Regions from separate parts of the Homo sapiens genome. Here region 2 is linked to region 1. Evidence: promoter capture Hi-C in 16 types of primary human blood cells and fetal thymus (Javierre and others, 2016). All regions are on one chromosome and are shown on one strand. The core of a region is centred on a gene start or on the middle of the fragment in contact, and the rest is flanking DNA. Distances in the headings are between cores, read along the strand shown. Region 1 holds the start of NRG2 (neuregulin 2). Region 2 overlaps NRG2 (neuregulin 2).

Region 1 (7,184 bases), core at 4,522-7,021:
TAAGAAAATATGTATTACCTGGGAAGAATTTACCACAAAATTGGCTTAATGGCAAAATTAACATTCTCCCTCTGTTGAAAGAAAATTTAAGACTACTTTGGGCCGGGCGCGGTGGCTCACGCCTGTAATCCAAGCACTTTGGGGGGCCAAGGCGGGTGGATCACGAGGTCAGGAGTTCGAGGCCAGCCAGGCCAAGATGGTGAAAACCCGTCTCTACTAAAAATACAAAAATTAATCGGGCGCGGTGGCGGGTGCCTGTAATCCCAGCTACTCAGGAGGCTGAGGCAGGAGAATTGCTTGAACCAGGGAGACGGAGGTTGCAGTGAGCTGAGAATGTGCCACTGCACTCTAGCCTGGGCGACAGAGCAAGACTCCATCTCAAAAAAAAAAAAAAAAAAAAGACTGCTTTGAAAAACATTGTGTTTTTAGAGAAACACACACTTCAAGAATAAATTATTCCTGAATATTTTACCACAGAGCCTTAAAGCGGGGTAGCTGAGAACAGGGATTAAGAAGGAAACTTTTCATCATATATTTTTATGTATTTTCTGAATTTTGAGCCATATAAATGTGCTACAGCTCCAAAAATATAAATATAATTTTATAAAGAAAAAACTAATTGATATTAGGAAATAAAATTAAAATGCCCTAGATAAAACAGGATAGTAAAGGGGAAGCACACTTGCTTTGATTAGGGGCCGAGAGGAAGTTAGTCACCTAGATTGTTAATATACCACCATCCCTAGCTCTCAAACTGTTTGTTAATTCAAACCGACGGTTGTTTTATTTTTGTTTAAATTTGGGGGTGGGCAAGTAGTAATCTACCTTCCAAAAGAAAAAAAAATAAGAGGGTCTTTTCCAGCAAGATCTTTATTCTCCAGTGCTCAAATCCCATTAACACTAATCAGCACAATGATTAAGCACATTGTGGTTAAGTACTCTAGTTGATAATGATTCTTTCGGAAGAAAGGTTCCCATAGCGACAGGTAAAGGCTATCATCAAACTCAGCTTTTCAGCACAGGACTTGATGTCACAGGTCAGAGAGTTAAGATTGTTTTAGTTTTAATCTGGAGGCTTTCTTTAACTTCACTTGACTTTATCCATTCAAATGACACTGATGGAGAGTCCTTCTATAAACCAGGCAAAGTACGAAACGCGGCAGGGCAGGAGAACTAGGAGAAAGAAGACCTCAAAGATAAGCTATTGTTCCTACCCCAAGAATGCAGTCTGCCGAGGAAAGCAGCCACTACAAGAAATAATGACATTAGGGTGGTAATTCAATCGTTAAATCTACAACCATGCCTTGTCCTCATCACTAGGACTGGTCAGTTTCTAATCTAGTTTCACTTTCCCATCTTCAAGCTGCAGCACAGCTGGGTTTCCAGCTGGCTGGGGAAGAAAAGATTCTTTAAATAAACAGCATTTAAAAAATATGTAGTCGCTTTTGCTATACTGAATTTTGTGAACCACCTTTCTCTAATATGTGAATCTGGGTGCCACATTAATTTAAAACTATCCTAAAGAATGTAAAAATCCTTAGGAATACACCTTTCCTTGTAGCAACAAAGTACACTATACACTGGAAAACTGCTAATCAGGAAATCCCAAAGAAAGAAATGATCTTCATTTTTTATGCTATTTACTGCATCTATTCAATAAGGAAACTGCTTAAAAACATGAATATAAGAAAACAACAAGATAGGGTGTAATTATACCAAAATATATGCAACCATCTTTTAAAATGCAGGACTATTTGCAGAACATGATGTTTTTATAACATTGTACAGAATTGCTAATCCCTGCAAGGCCTTTCTAACTCTTTTTCCTCGCCTTTCCACAGAAGGCACAGAAAACACCTCCCTCCATACAATGCAATCTTCTAAGAAATGCAAAGATTTTACTCAACTCTATCACCAGATGTACTCTTTCTGGATAAATGATACACATTAGATATGTAAAAATATCACTCTGGCAGGTCTTGCTCTTCCAGAAAGACCCCTGTCTACCTTTCCCCACCTTAGATCACAGACTTCAAGTCAACATTTCATGGTGGAAACGAGCCATTTATGAGGACTGATAAGAAGAGGTCCAGTGTGACCTCCTGCATTGATGCTCCTGAGGCCAATTTTTAAACACAATATTATCCCTCCATATTTTGCCCCCCTCCAAAAAAAAACCCACGGGCTTTCTAGGTGACTTCCCAGAGAACCACACCTCTCAGAACCTACACACACTCAGACCTGAAACTAGCTAAACAAAGCAACAATGCAACCTCAGTTGCTCAATGTAACGGCCATGACGACAGTTTCCAAGTGCCAGTTTCCCTATTTTGCAATGGGCAAATCTGCTCCAAGGAGAAAATGTTCCCAATGACCCTGTGGCCCAGAGGGCTTTCTTTAGAATAGAAAACAGAAAATGAATTTGTTAGTTATTTCCTGCTAAGCACAAGGACAGTGTTGTGGTTAGTTAGGATGATTTTGTTTCCTTATTTAATATAGCATTACCAGTACATGTTTTCTTTAACCACATAGTAGAAAACAAGAAAATGCAGTTTATGCTCTTCTGTTATATTATCACCAATTCCACAAGTCTCACAAATATGTCCTTTAATTTCTAATCCCCTTATATAAGGCTCCCCAAAATGGTACCTATTTATATACTTCCCTTTGAATATCAATTCAAAGCAATTTTTTTTTGCATTCTAAAATGTTTACTGCCATACACATTCCTGATCCTTGATAATTTGTGATATGTGAGGGCCCTTCCTTTACCAGTGATTGCAGTTCTAAATGTATCTTTTTAAGAACTATACTACACATGCTATTTTGATAATATGAGATGATCATAACCTAGAAACAGACCATATTTCTGCCCCTCAAATCTTTCATGATTTCTGCATTCAACTGTTAAGCTACTGAATACCCACTAGAACAAACAATGTGTAATTGATAAGGTGTATTGTGTTGGGGGAAGGAGAAAGTAGGAGGAGGGAGACAAGGGAGCAGAGAAGCCAGTTACTCTATGGGGTTATCTGACAAAGACCATCAAGTCCTCAGCGGCCCAGACTAGGGATTATGTGGAGATGTACACTGTGCAAATGCAGGAGCAACTCACCAACAACCAAACAGAAGCTGTCCTTGGACAAGATTCAATAAATATTTTTACTATCTATTTTCCACTGTACAATACTGTTTCACAGCTCCCCAAGGCATCTCAGAGTATTTTAATACTCCCCAAGTATCAAAATACTTAATAGAATAAAAAATTAGAAATTCTTAGCTGGTCTCTACTTGTCTTTATAAAACATTTCAGAACATAAAACCAATAATAAAAAGCAGTCAACAATATTCCTAAGGATAATGTCAGAGCGATAAACTGCTGTTATCCCCCAAAGTTTTCCCCTCCTTATTAAGACATTGCCAAGATTCTTCTCATTAAAGTGATCACAGTTTAACATAGTTAGTGTCTAGATATACTCCCATCACTAAACTCCTAAAATTTGCCTCCTGAAGGGGGTGGGGGAGGAAAGCTTCCAAAAATCATAGGTATCGATCTAGAAAGATGAAGGCAGCAAAACTTACTATAAGCTGTTACACATATTTTGCTACTCAAACAAAGCCTGTCTACACTACCCAGAATCAGTTGGTAAAACTGGTAAACATACCAACTTCTATGAGAGTACAGGACATCTATCATAATTCAGCGATTACACAGTCCAGCAAGTCATACCGCATGCCAACAAATTCAGCTTTAGTTGGGACAAAACGAAACCTCAATTTGAATAAGCACGAGACAGGCTTACACCAAATACTCCAGTGTGGGACAATTTGATTTGAAATATCTTACTAAGAAGTAAGTACTGGATTCAGGGACAAGAAGAAAAAGCTCTTAGACTGACATTTCTTTGACTTTTGACATGGGAGACTTCCATTCCCAGCTGCAGAGATCTACAGATTTCAGTGTTTTGTTTCTAATCACCTGCATTCCTGTGCAGCATCCAACATCATGAAGATGAGAGATGCAGTCAAATACATCCGGCGAGTAAGACGTTAGAGCTGAACTTAAAGCATTCAGCAGAAGTTACTCTCTTTCATCATCATCACAATCAACAGACCTTGTAATTCCCCCAGAAACAGCTAAAAAAAAAAAAAAAAAAAGGTGTCTGCTTGCTAGTCTTAAGAGAAGGATGTGCTACCTGCTTAGCAAAGACAGGCAATCACGATGAAGAAAAAAACTGGAGCCACATGGAGGACGGAAAACAGTAGCAGAAAAAGTCCAACTCTGCCTGCGCCAGCGGTGTGGATGAGCAGAGCAACGAGCCCAGGAGAGGAAGGAGGGGGCGGGGGCGACCATTCCCTAGGAGAACTTGTAAGCGGAGGCCTTCACAGCCTGGGAGTCTGCCCAGCTGCTCCCGCAGACCCTGCCAGCCTGGGCACGGCAGGCCCGCGGCAGCAGGGCAGGCAAGGCCTCCGAGGGTCACTCCTGACTCACTGAGCCTCAGGCCAGCACCGCCAGGACCTCTCCGTTTTTCCTTCCGCTACTGGGCTATGATGGCAGCTTTCCAGCCCCACATGCCATACATCAGCCGCAGATCCCCGCTGGCACAGGCCAGCGCCTCCCTCCGCCCCCCACCCCTGGCACACTTTGAGCCTGATCCTTCTTCTCTCCAACCCCAACCCCCTCACCCACCCGTGCCAGGCGCCCTGCCCAGGGGCGGCCCCACCCCCCCAGCGCCCGGACGCTGCCAGGCCCGGGCACCTGCAGCACCTCCCCGCCCCACCCCCATTCTCCACCACCTCGCCCCTCCCCCCTTTCTCCAGCAAAGGGAGGGGGCGACTCACCGCAGTCAGTGCACAGGATCTTGCCCACCTCTTTCTTGAGATTTTTGCCGTTGGTATCGAGGGGGGCAAAGGCCGTCTTAAAGACTAAGGGCTGTTCCGTGGGCTCCAGGAAAAAGATGTAGCGCTGGTTCCTTTCGAGCGGCACACAGGAGCCCACGCTGATCACCTGCTCGCGCTGCAGCCCCCCGCTCCGGAGCGGCCACTTGTCCAGCACCTTTACCAACGCCACCCGACCCGAGGCGGGCGGCTCTCGGGTGCTGTTGGAGCTGGAGCCGCCGGCTGGGACCAGCCCCTGTACCTTGCCCTCCACCACCACGGGTGCCTTGTACGCCTGGTCCTGCACTGACTTGAGGCTGGGCGAGTAGCAGGCGAGCGACACACCGAAGAGCAGCATGGAGAAGCCGGGGGCCGGGTCGCGCCTCATGCCGCCGGCGGCTGCGGCTCGCGAACGGGCGGCGGCTCTCCGGGCTGCGGGGCTGCGGGGCTGCGGCTGTTGCTGCGGCCGCGGCTCTGGGGGCGCAGCGGGACGAGAGATGCTGCTGTTGTTGCTGCTGCTCCTGCTGCTGCTGCCGCTCTCGCTGCTGCTGCTGCTGCTGCTGCTGCTCCTCTCGCTGCTGCTGCTGCTGCTGTCGCTGTAGCTGCTGCACCGACCCTTCTCCAGTGGCGGCGGCGGCAGCGCTGAGCAGCAAACCTGCCGCATCTGGCCAGGCCATTTGGGGGGCTCCGCCGCTCAGCCGCCGCCGCCTTGGGAGGGGAAACAGAGCCCGCTGGAAAACCGGAAACAGCGTAACGTTAGCGCCTCTTAGCCCTCCACCGGCAGCCCGGGGAGGTGGCCCAGCTAGGGCAGGGGGCAGGCGGCAAGCGGGCCGCGATGCGCAGCGCGGCGCAGCGCAGCGCTCCCACCCTGTGCGCCAGGACCTGGAGGAGGATGCGGAGGATGGGACGCCCGCCCACTTGCTCTCTCGCGCCCCCTCTGCCCCCGGACCGAGTAGGGAGCGCGGCTTCTGCAGGGGAAGCTTGGGACTGCACTGCTTTAGTGCCCGCCTTCAGCCCGCAGGGGCGCGGGAGGAATCGTGCCACCCTTTGCTCCCGGGATTTATCGGCATGACAGTGGGGGTGGTGCGTGAGGAGAAGGCGAAGAAGAGATAACGGGCTCCTGGCACCATCCTATGAACGTGGTAATGGGACGCAGGGCGTGCCCCCTGCCTTTGGCCAGCAGCTGTAGGAGCCAGAGAGGTTGCCATGGCCAGGGTGGCCGGCCAGCCTCTCGCCTCTTGGGCTGTCCTCTTTCCTAGGAGGACCCTGGAGCCCAGCCCCTAAATGATACCACGTGCTCGGTCCTGCCACCGCCTGGTGAACGCTGGATATTCGACTTGAGGTGGGGGAGAATCCCAGCCCCGTCATTTTGGAAAGAGTTGGGCCACAAGGTGTCTTGTCTTAGCATTGAGGACACCCAAGCAGAGGTGGTAGCTGAGAAAGGGCCCAGTCCCCAACACTCTGGGCTTTCTTCAGCGGCCACGTGGGGATCTGGCTGAGCACTGTACAACCTCATCTTTTAAAAATCTGATCTCTAAGAAAGGTGGGGGGCTTCTTGGGAGCCAACAGAGAGCCAGAGCCTGTCAGGGCCAGAGGCTGCTCCATAAAAAAGGTTTTTTTTGTTTTGTTTTGTTTTGTTTCCAAGGCTGATGCTTGCAAGAGGCAGAAGAGTTTGCTGCACTGGAGCCAGCATCTGATTTAAAACACACACACACACACACACACACACACACAGGTCCATAATCCATTAGCCTATCAATGAGGGTCCAGGGAGTTTTCAACACCCAGCTTTTAACCTTGAAGGATGTGGAGCTCAGGAATGCCAGTGAGCTCTTGGGGAATTTTATACCGCACTGGGCTCCACAGGAAACTGGTCCAAGGATGAGTGACTTAGGCTAGGACTGCTATTCTGGAAAGGAAGTAGAGAGAGCTACACCTTTCCTCCTAGCTAAGAGACATCTTAAACTCAATACATCCAAAGCCAACATCATTATTTCTTCCACTTCACTCCAAATCCCCTATAATTATTAATGCCACTGTTTTATTCTTTTAGACTACATCAATCCATTACAATAAGTCCCTTCATCTCATCTTTTATTCTTCCTCATCCAATTAATCACCAAGGCCTTTGGGTCTCTCTTTTAAAATAATCTCCAATTTATCTACTTCCACTCCAACTCTGCTGCAAATACCTTAAGTCCAAGCCCTCATCATCTCTCACCTGGACAACTTCTAAGCCTTCTAACTGGTCTCCACTCCTTTCACCTCATCACCTATCTCCAGTCCTACCAATGCCAGAGTGATCC
Region 2 (7,560 bases), core at 3,318-5,817, 190 kb before region 1:
ATGGCAGGTACTGTAGGATTCAAAGCATATAATGAAGGTACCCGATGCTCATGCAAAGATCGGTGAGTTCACCAAGAGGTCATTCAGAATCAACCGAGGGCCACATAGAGATTGGTGGGTTCATTGGGTGGCTTCTGACTCTAAAATTTAGAAAGCAACAGCAACCTAGAGCCCCCAGAAAGGTCACACGAGGACAATAAGCTGGACCACACAAAGGTCAATGGGTTCCCCAAGAGTTCATATGGAGTTAATTTGGGATCCTACAGAAGCCACAAGTCACAGAGAAGAATAACTGGCTCTCAGAGAATTTTAAAGTCAACTACGAAACCAGAGACAGCAGAGGGGCCTGGATGAGATCAACAGAAGGGGGCCGGGAGGGGCCAGTGAGTTGCAGGTTTATGCAGGATTGAGTTCATTATTTTCCTTTTTAAAATTTTTTGTAGCAGATACTTTTTCCCAGCACCCCCACAATAAATACAATAACTTTAATTTGTTCTTTATTTTTTTCCATCGACTCCCTCTCATCTAGTTTTTGTCACTCTGGCTGTGTGATACAAGGATGCAAGGCACAGGATATTGTCATCACCACCATCAAATCAGCCATGTAATAGGCATCTATCACGTGCCAGCATCAGCACTGGGTACTTTATAATCTCCACAGCAACCTTTTGGAATAGGTATTTACATCACCCATTTCCCAGCAAGGAAACTGTGGCCTAGAGACGTCACACAGCTAGGCGGCACAGAGCTGGAATTTGAACTTACGCCCTGTTGATGCCAAAGCCCTCTCAACCCGCAGCCTCTCTGTCCCTCCCACCTATAGGTCTCTGACTACACACATCCTAGTGGGATTCACACACACACACACACACACACACACACGTGTAGCCGAGTGTGCATGCCAACCACCTCAGCTGTTTGGGTGGAAGACGTCCGTGTGTCTGGCTGGAACCGAATAGTTCCGGGTGCTGGGCACTGGTTTACTAAATTAGTTGATGAGGGGAAAGGCTTTTGAACCTGGGCCTCCATCTGCCTTCTCCATACTGAAATCATGTACTCTCTCTCAGGTCTGCGGGTTTAGACAGGTCCTGGCTCTGAGGGGGTATAAAGTTGGGGAAAGAGCAACACCCTGTGGGCTTATGAACTGCAGCAGCTGTGGTCCTGGCAGCTGAGGGTACCACTGTTATGCCACTTTGCATGTTCAGACTTTGCCTGTGACGTGCCTCAGGGTCCAAGGGTCATCCTGCCTTGGCTGTGCTATTACCAACCCCACAACCCATCCCTCCTCAACCACCTAGGCCGGCAACTGTTGCCTCAGTCCGGCCCATAGATCCAGGGCAGGAACTGGGCCAGAGTTCCAACGCTGAGTTTGAAGCAGAGCAATTTGTGTCAGTCCCTTGGCCAGGTTCCCCAGCAGCCAGTGGGGACACCTTGTAAATATTCTTGGAAGCGGGAGGAGGGCTGGAGTCTGTCCTGTGAGCTGGGGCCGGAGAGACCGGAGACAGGGTCACTTCCTTCCAGGGACTGCCCTGGCCCCCTCCAACCTCCAGGCCAGCATCATCCACATCCACCATGGGACTTCGTGCTCTGAGTTCCCTCCTCATCTGAGGCTAGGCACACACAGTCAAACAGGAGTTATTTCTGATTTTATTTATAATATAAAAATGTTCAAGTGTCAACAGTCAGGTGTTCAGACATTTCAGGACAGGATTCCCATCTGTTTCTGTTTGGGATTTTTTTTTTTTTTAAACAATTACCTTTTTGACAAATTAGCAGTGGACCCAGTTTTTGGGGGTGGGAGGGCAGGACTGGAGACGAGTGGATGTCATAGGTGGGTTGGGGGCTAGGAGGCAGCCTGTGAGAAGGAAATGGTGTTACTTTATTGCTAAAAGGGGAATACACTGTCGAGTGGCTCTTCTCGGTCCCAGCGTGACCATGCATCCAATCTAAAGAATCTGAAATGCAAAGGACATGCAGGTGTAAAATAGAAAAGACGACCTGTAAACGAAGGTGCTGCAGAGGACGGAGGGGCGTCCTGGAGGCTGTGGGGGACAGGAGCCGCCAACATTGGGCCCCTGGCAGAGCTGCCACCTCCCTGGGCTCAGGCTCTTGGGGAAACGTTTCTCTGCCCCCCCTCCTTTAACAGCTGTGAGTAGCCAGGGCTTCCCCATTCGGGTAGCTGTGTCTTTATCTCCCCCTGGAAGTTACCCCAGCTCCAGCTCCAAGCCTAGGGTCCTGGCCCTCTCCTCCCAGGGGTCGGGAACTTCAGCTCTTGCCTGGGAGCAAAGCTACTTCCGTCCTCAGTTCTTCCTTAGGGCCAACCCCCCACCGCCCCCCACCCTCGCCCCCAACAGAACCCGCACCTCTTCTCTCCCAGCTGTCACTCTCAGCACCCCACAACCCAGACCTGTCCCCCGGAGCCCCAGATGAGCATACAGCAAAAGGCACCACAAAATAGGTTTCTATTAAAGAGTCAAAAAATTGGCCCATCTCTCTTTTTTTTTTGTTGTTTCTTTTTTTTTTCCGAAGCTGTAAATCAGGATGTTACATATAAATAGTTTCCCTATAAAAACGCCTTTGCCGTTAGCTAGTATTATAAGACAATTTTTGCTAAAATGAAAATAAAACATTTTGTTATACTTTTTTCCTTTTATAGAAAATAAAAATATTTTTATTTCTTTTTTCCTCCTTTCTCTCCAGTAGGCGGTCTCTGGTCTCCTTAAAGATAGTGGGGCGGGCGGGGCGGAGGGGCGCGCGGCGGGGCCCTAGAGTGGCGCCGAGTCCTGCTTGGCCCGCGGGGGCGGCCCGCGGCTGTGTCTGCTGCTGGCCCGCGTGCTGTGGCTGTCCAGTGAGTAGTAAGTCCTGCTGTCGGCCGCCGGGCACAGTGGCGGCGAGTCCGAGCGCAGCGCGTCGTGCGCCCCACGCAGGCCCAGGAAAGGTGTGCTCTCGGCCGCCAGCGCCCCGTCCGCGTCGTCCGCGTCGTCGTCCGACGCCGAGGCTGAGCCGCCGCCCGAGCCGCTGCTCAGCGACAGCGAGTCCCTCGCCGCCCGTGCGCGCTGCGCCGCCAGCCCGTTGAGGCGCGAGCGGCGCCAGCGCCGGGGCCCCGCCGACGTCCTGCGGGACGCACCGCGCGCGCGCGGCCGCGGCGGCGGCGGGGGCGCGCACTCCTGCGTGGTCTCGTACTCGTCGTCCTCGGGGATGCGGAAGGGGCTGGCAGGCAGGCTGCCCAGGCTGCCGCCGAGCGCGCAGGTCCCGCGCCGCGGTCCGGGCCCCGCCGCGGGGTAATAGTAGCTGTCATAGCTGCGCTGCATGTCTGCGCCGGGCCCGGGCCCGGGCCCGGGTCCGGGTCCCGGGCCGGGGGGCGCCGGGTGCCGCAGTAACGGCTGCTGCTCGGCCAGGCGGTAACTGATGGGCGCCGCCGGCGGCAGCGACACGGCGTGCGCCGAGTTGGGGGACGTGATCTCGAAAGTTGGCACCTGCGTGGCCAGCGAGTAGTGGAAGTCCACGGGCGAGAGGCGCGCGGGCGTGGTCAGGGCCGACACGTACCTGCGGGGAGAGGCAGAGGCATGGGCCAGGGCCAGGCCGGGCCGGCGCGGGGGAGGGGGGGTTGGGGGTGGGGTAGGGTGGGAGGGGCGGACCCAGACTTGCCTTAACCTTGCCCGAGACCCCGCCTGCAAGAATGACGGCAGCAACCCTCAGTGGCCTTATGCAATTTCCTAAACCTCTCCGAGCCTCGGTTTCCTTATCTGTTACGCGGGCATAACCATGGTGTTGATTCCATAGCTCTGTTGGGATGATTCCAGATTGTATCAGTGGGATGTGTTAGCCCTGTGCCTGACCCTGGTAAGCTTTCATGAATGGTCACTTGCTGTGGGAATGCTCACCGTCAGGGGGTCAGGCTCACGCTGGGGTACATGTTCCATCTGGTTTAATACCGCAGCTCTGTAAGACCCTTCCGCCAGTCCCATTCTACACGCAGGAAAGTAACACTCAGAACGTTTAATTCTACACGCAGGAAAGTAACACTCAGAACGTTTAAGTGACTTATTCAGGATTTACACAGCCAAGAAGTGGCAGAGCTGGGATGTGACTTGAGGCTAGTCAGGAACCAGGACTCATACTGCCCAATTCCAGAAGCCATTAGTCTCCATTCAGATACCCCTGTGACCTGGCCTCACTGCCCCACAGGGACAATTCCTCCCATGCCCTGATGGCTTCAGTGAGGGAAATATTCCTCCTTACAGTGAAGTCAAAACCTGCTTCAGGGGAGTACCAAGATCCCATGAGGTGTCTCTGCTTGTGGCTACAGACCCATCCCCACACCACCAGCTCCTTCAGAAGTCTGGCCTTGCTAATATCTCCCAGGCTGGATCCCGGGTACCTGTCCCCTTTTGTGCTCCACATCCCCCTTGTAAGCCCATCAGTCTTCTGCCCCACCGTTGTCACCTCAGGACAGGGGCCACCCACCTCCACGCTTCCCTTCCAAACTGCACAGCTGGGCATCTCACTGCTCTCTGGAACCAGCCTGGAGTCCCCATTATCATTTTTTCTGAATCGCCTGACTCCTCCCTCTTCCCTTTCCCACCGGCACATCTGATTAACCACCAAGTCCTACCCATTCCCTTCTCCGGAAGCACACTCTCCACCCCATCCTGGGCCCGACTGTTCACATGTGGTCATCTGGGTCCACCCCAGGGTCTCTCCTCCTTCACTCTATGCAGTTCCCAGAGCAATCTTGTAAAGTCACAGCTCTGCTGAAGCCGGTCTTCCTGTTTACCCACCCAGGGTCAGTCTGTCTGGCCTCAGCTTGCCTGTTCAGGCCCAGCTCCTCTGCTCCCTACAGCCCACTCTGTTCCAGGCACCTCACTCATCAGCCCTGTTCTTAAGTGCCTCTGTTGGAACAGCTCAAGTTGTTCCCCGTGCCTAGAATGCTTTTCTTCCTGCTCTCCTGCCTCTCCCCTTCCTACCACCCATTAAGGAGTCTCATTGCTGTGGTTACGATTCATAAATAGCTACACCTAGTGAGCATCAGCTCCATGCCAGGGATGAGACAAAGAGCTCTGTGCACATGATCTCAGGTGGCCTTCACTTGAACCATGCATAGTAGCTTTTGTTCTCCCTGTTCTACAGCTGAGGGAACAAGGTACAGAGGTGATCAGTCTGCCCCAAATCACACAGGTGGTGGAGCTGGGCTTAGAAAATCTGGCTACTTCCCAGAGCCTACAGTCAGACTGGGTCTCTCTGCCCTGGTGTGGTGTCATGTTTAGCACCTTCCATAGGCTGCTGTAAGCTTCCTTGGTTTGTTTCTGTGGCTAGGAGCTCCTCAGGAGCAGGAACCTGGCAGGCCACTTCTGGATTCCCAGCCAGGCCTGCCCAGCACAGGGCCTGGCATGGAGTAGGCTGAGTTGAGAGCAAGGGAATATCTGCTCCTCTCCCTGCTCCCTGGTGTGGAGTTTTTAGTACCACTCATCTTTCCCTGCTCACCTCCTACAGACCCCACTTGCTGAGGGCCACTCAGGGCTGAGCAAGGTGGCAGGGGTGCTGGCCCTTGACTTCTGGCTTGGAGTCAGGGAAGAAAGGGCGTTTCCTGGTTCTTACTACATCCACTGCTTAGGAAGCCAACAAGGCCTTGAACCCTGGGGTCTTGTTGCTGCTACTGCCAAGGCCTGCCATCATTCTTGGCTCACGTCCATCTTGTGCTGGTCAGTGTCCTCAAAGGCAACCTCCCCTCCCACTCTGCAGTTTACTCCTTCTTCGTGTCTCCTTCTGTTCCTGCTGGGACATGGAACTTCTAGCATGTATCCTGGTTTGTCCAGAACAGCCCCTGTTTGTTCTTTTTTTTTTTTTCTTTTTGTAAAGGGAGTCTTGCTCTGTTGCTGAGGTTGGAGTGCAGTGGCGCCATCTCAGCTCACTGCAACCTCCGCCTCCCAGGTGAAGGGATGCTCTTGCCTCAGCCTCCCAAGTAGCTGTGATTACAGGCATGTGCCACCATGCCTGGCTAATTTTTGTATTTTTAGTAAAGATGGGGGTTTCACCATGTTGGCCAGACTAGTCTCAAACTCCTGACCTCAGGTGATCCATCCGCCTTGGCCTCCCAAGTGCTGGGATTACAGGTGTGAGCCACCGCGCCCGGCTGCCTGTTTGTTCTTGATGTTCCAGTGTAACTATTAATAATGTCCTTTTTCTAGTGTGAAAAGTGTCCTGGGAGGACAATTAAATTAGATGGTCACTGTCCACCAGGGTCCACTGGCCCAACTCTAGTCCCAGTCTGTCATTAACATGCCGATGGCTCTGAGCAGGCCATTTCACCTTTTCTAGGACCTTGTTTTCCCATATGAAAAATGGAGATGAGGCTCTTTGGAGTGTTTCTGAGGGGCCCTAAGGGTCAGCCTTGGGCCAGTGGTGCCAGCCCTCTGGCTAAGCGGGGAATAGGTCAGGGGGTAGGAACTGACCTCTCGCTGTGTGGGGAGTCGCGAAGGGAGTCCACGGAATCGTGATAGGGTGGCGCGGTGGCCCTGCGCCGCTCCTCCAGGTTGTAGGCTGCTGCCCGCCTTGCCCGGGCCTCCACACATGCTGGGCTGTTGCATTTGCTGGTACCCACTGATGATAGCATGATCCCCGACTGGGAGTCAGAAGTCAGGCTCTCAGAACGTTCCAGGCTCCACGTGTGGCTCTCGTGTCTGGGAAGGCCAGATGGGGTGAGACGAGGGGTCAGGAAGGGGCAGGGCGGCCCAGCAGGTGTGGTCCCATGGACCTCCCTGGCTCTTCTTCCACCTCGAGCTCCCTTAGCTCAATGCCCTTCTCCACTCTGGGGTGATGTGTATTGTTGCAAATGCCCAACCCCAATATTGGAAGAAGGAGGGCTGGGGTCCCATAGATGGGTGAGCTGTAATGTGCAGAGACCCATTTCTTTCCTTCCTGCAACCAGCCTCCCCCCAGCCTTACCTTAGACCCCCTGTCTGGGACCTTTCCACCACCGTGGTCCTTAGCTACCTATCTCAGAAGCCCAGCCCCAGGGGCCAGTATGTGAGGGCCCTGACTATTTCCTGGTGCTCCCGAGGGAAGAAGGGAGCCAGCCATGTTATTTTTGAGTTGTCTGAGCCTTTGTGCTGTGTGGACTGGCCTCTGCAGTTCTGGAGAGGAGGCTAAGGTGTGCTGTGATTCCTGTGGCAAGCTCAGGGGAGGGTATTGAATAGCTCTGGATGTCGGAGTAAGTGGGCACTTTGCGCCAGATGAAGTATGTGAGTCTACAAGTTTCCATGGGCCTTGGTGGTGCCTACCTGTGGCTGGAGGTGGGTGTGGCTGTGGAGCAGTGGTGAGAAGGAGAACAGGAGTGGCTCCCAGAGAAGGTGGTCTCAGTTTCTCTCCTGATGACATGGTCTGTGGCTGGCACGTTCTTGGAAATATACTGGAACAGACAGAGTTGGGCGAGAGTTAGTGACTGGGGCCCAAATGAACTCTTTCTTGTTGGGGACAGGGAAGTGATGAGCACTGACTGAGCTCCTGGTTGGGGAGACCCACTGTGTGAGAGTGACTTGATGTTGGGGCAGCGATGGCTCC

Evidence for each region. Contacts are between HindIII fragments. The CHiCAGO score rates a contact against its expected background, and 5 or more counts as called.
Region 2: a fragment that was not itself captured here is called in contact with the fragment with the promoter of NRG2 in region 1 in 1 of 17 cell types (M1 macrophages); the score reaches 5.1 in M1 macrophages.

The regions. Positions count from the first base shown.
Region 1 is chr5:140,037,528-140,044,711 of GRCh38, forward strand. It overlaps NRG2 (neuregulin 2), which reads right to left and starts at 5,772. Exons shown (of 10, transcript NM_004883.3): 1 at 4,843-5,772. The coding sequence starts at 5,542. RefSeq lists enhancers at 3,675-3,864, 5,237-5,906 and silencers at 5,205-5,414, 5,575-5,914. The HindIII fragment of the contact is 2,328 bases long and covers 3,529-5,856 here.
Region 2 is chr5:139,845,152-139,852,711 of GRCh38, forward strand. It overlaps NRG2 (neuregulin 2), which reads right to left. Exons shown (of 10, transcript NM_004883.3): 8 at 7,281-7,408; 9 at 6,453-6,680; 10 at 1,630-3,546. The coding sequence ends at 2,766. Among named protein-coding and RNA genes, the nearest start is that of PSD2, 53 kb to the left of the region's middle. RefSeq lists silencers at 2,778-2,967, 3,098-3,517, 3,568-3,627. The HindIII fragment of the contact is 1,442 bases long and covers 3,847-5,288 here.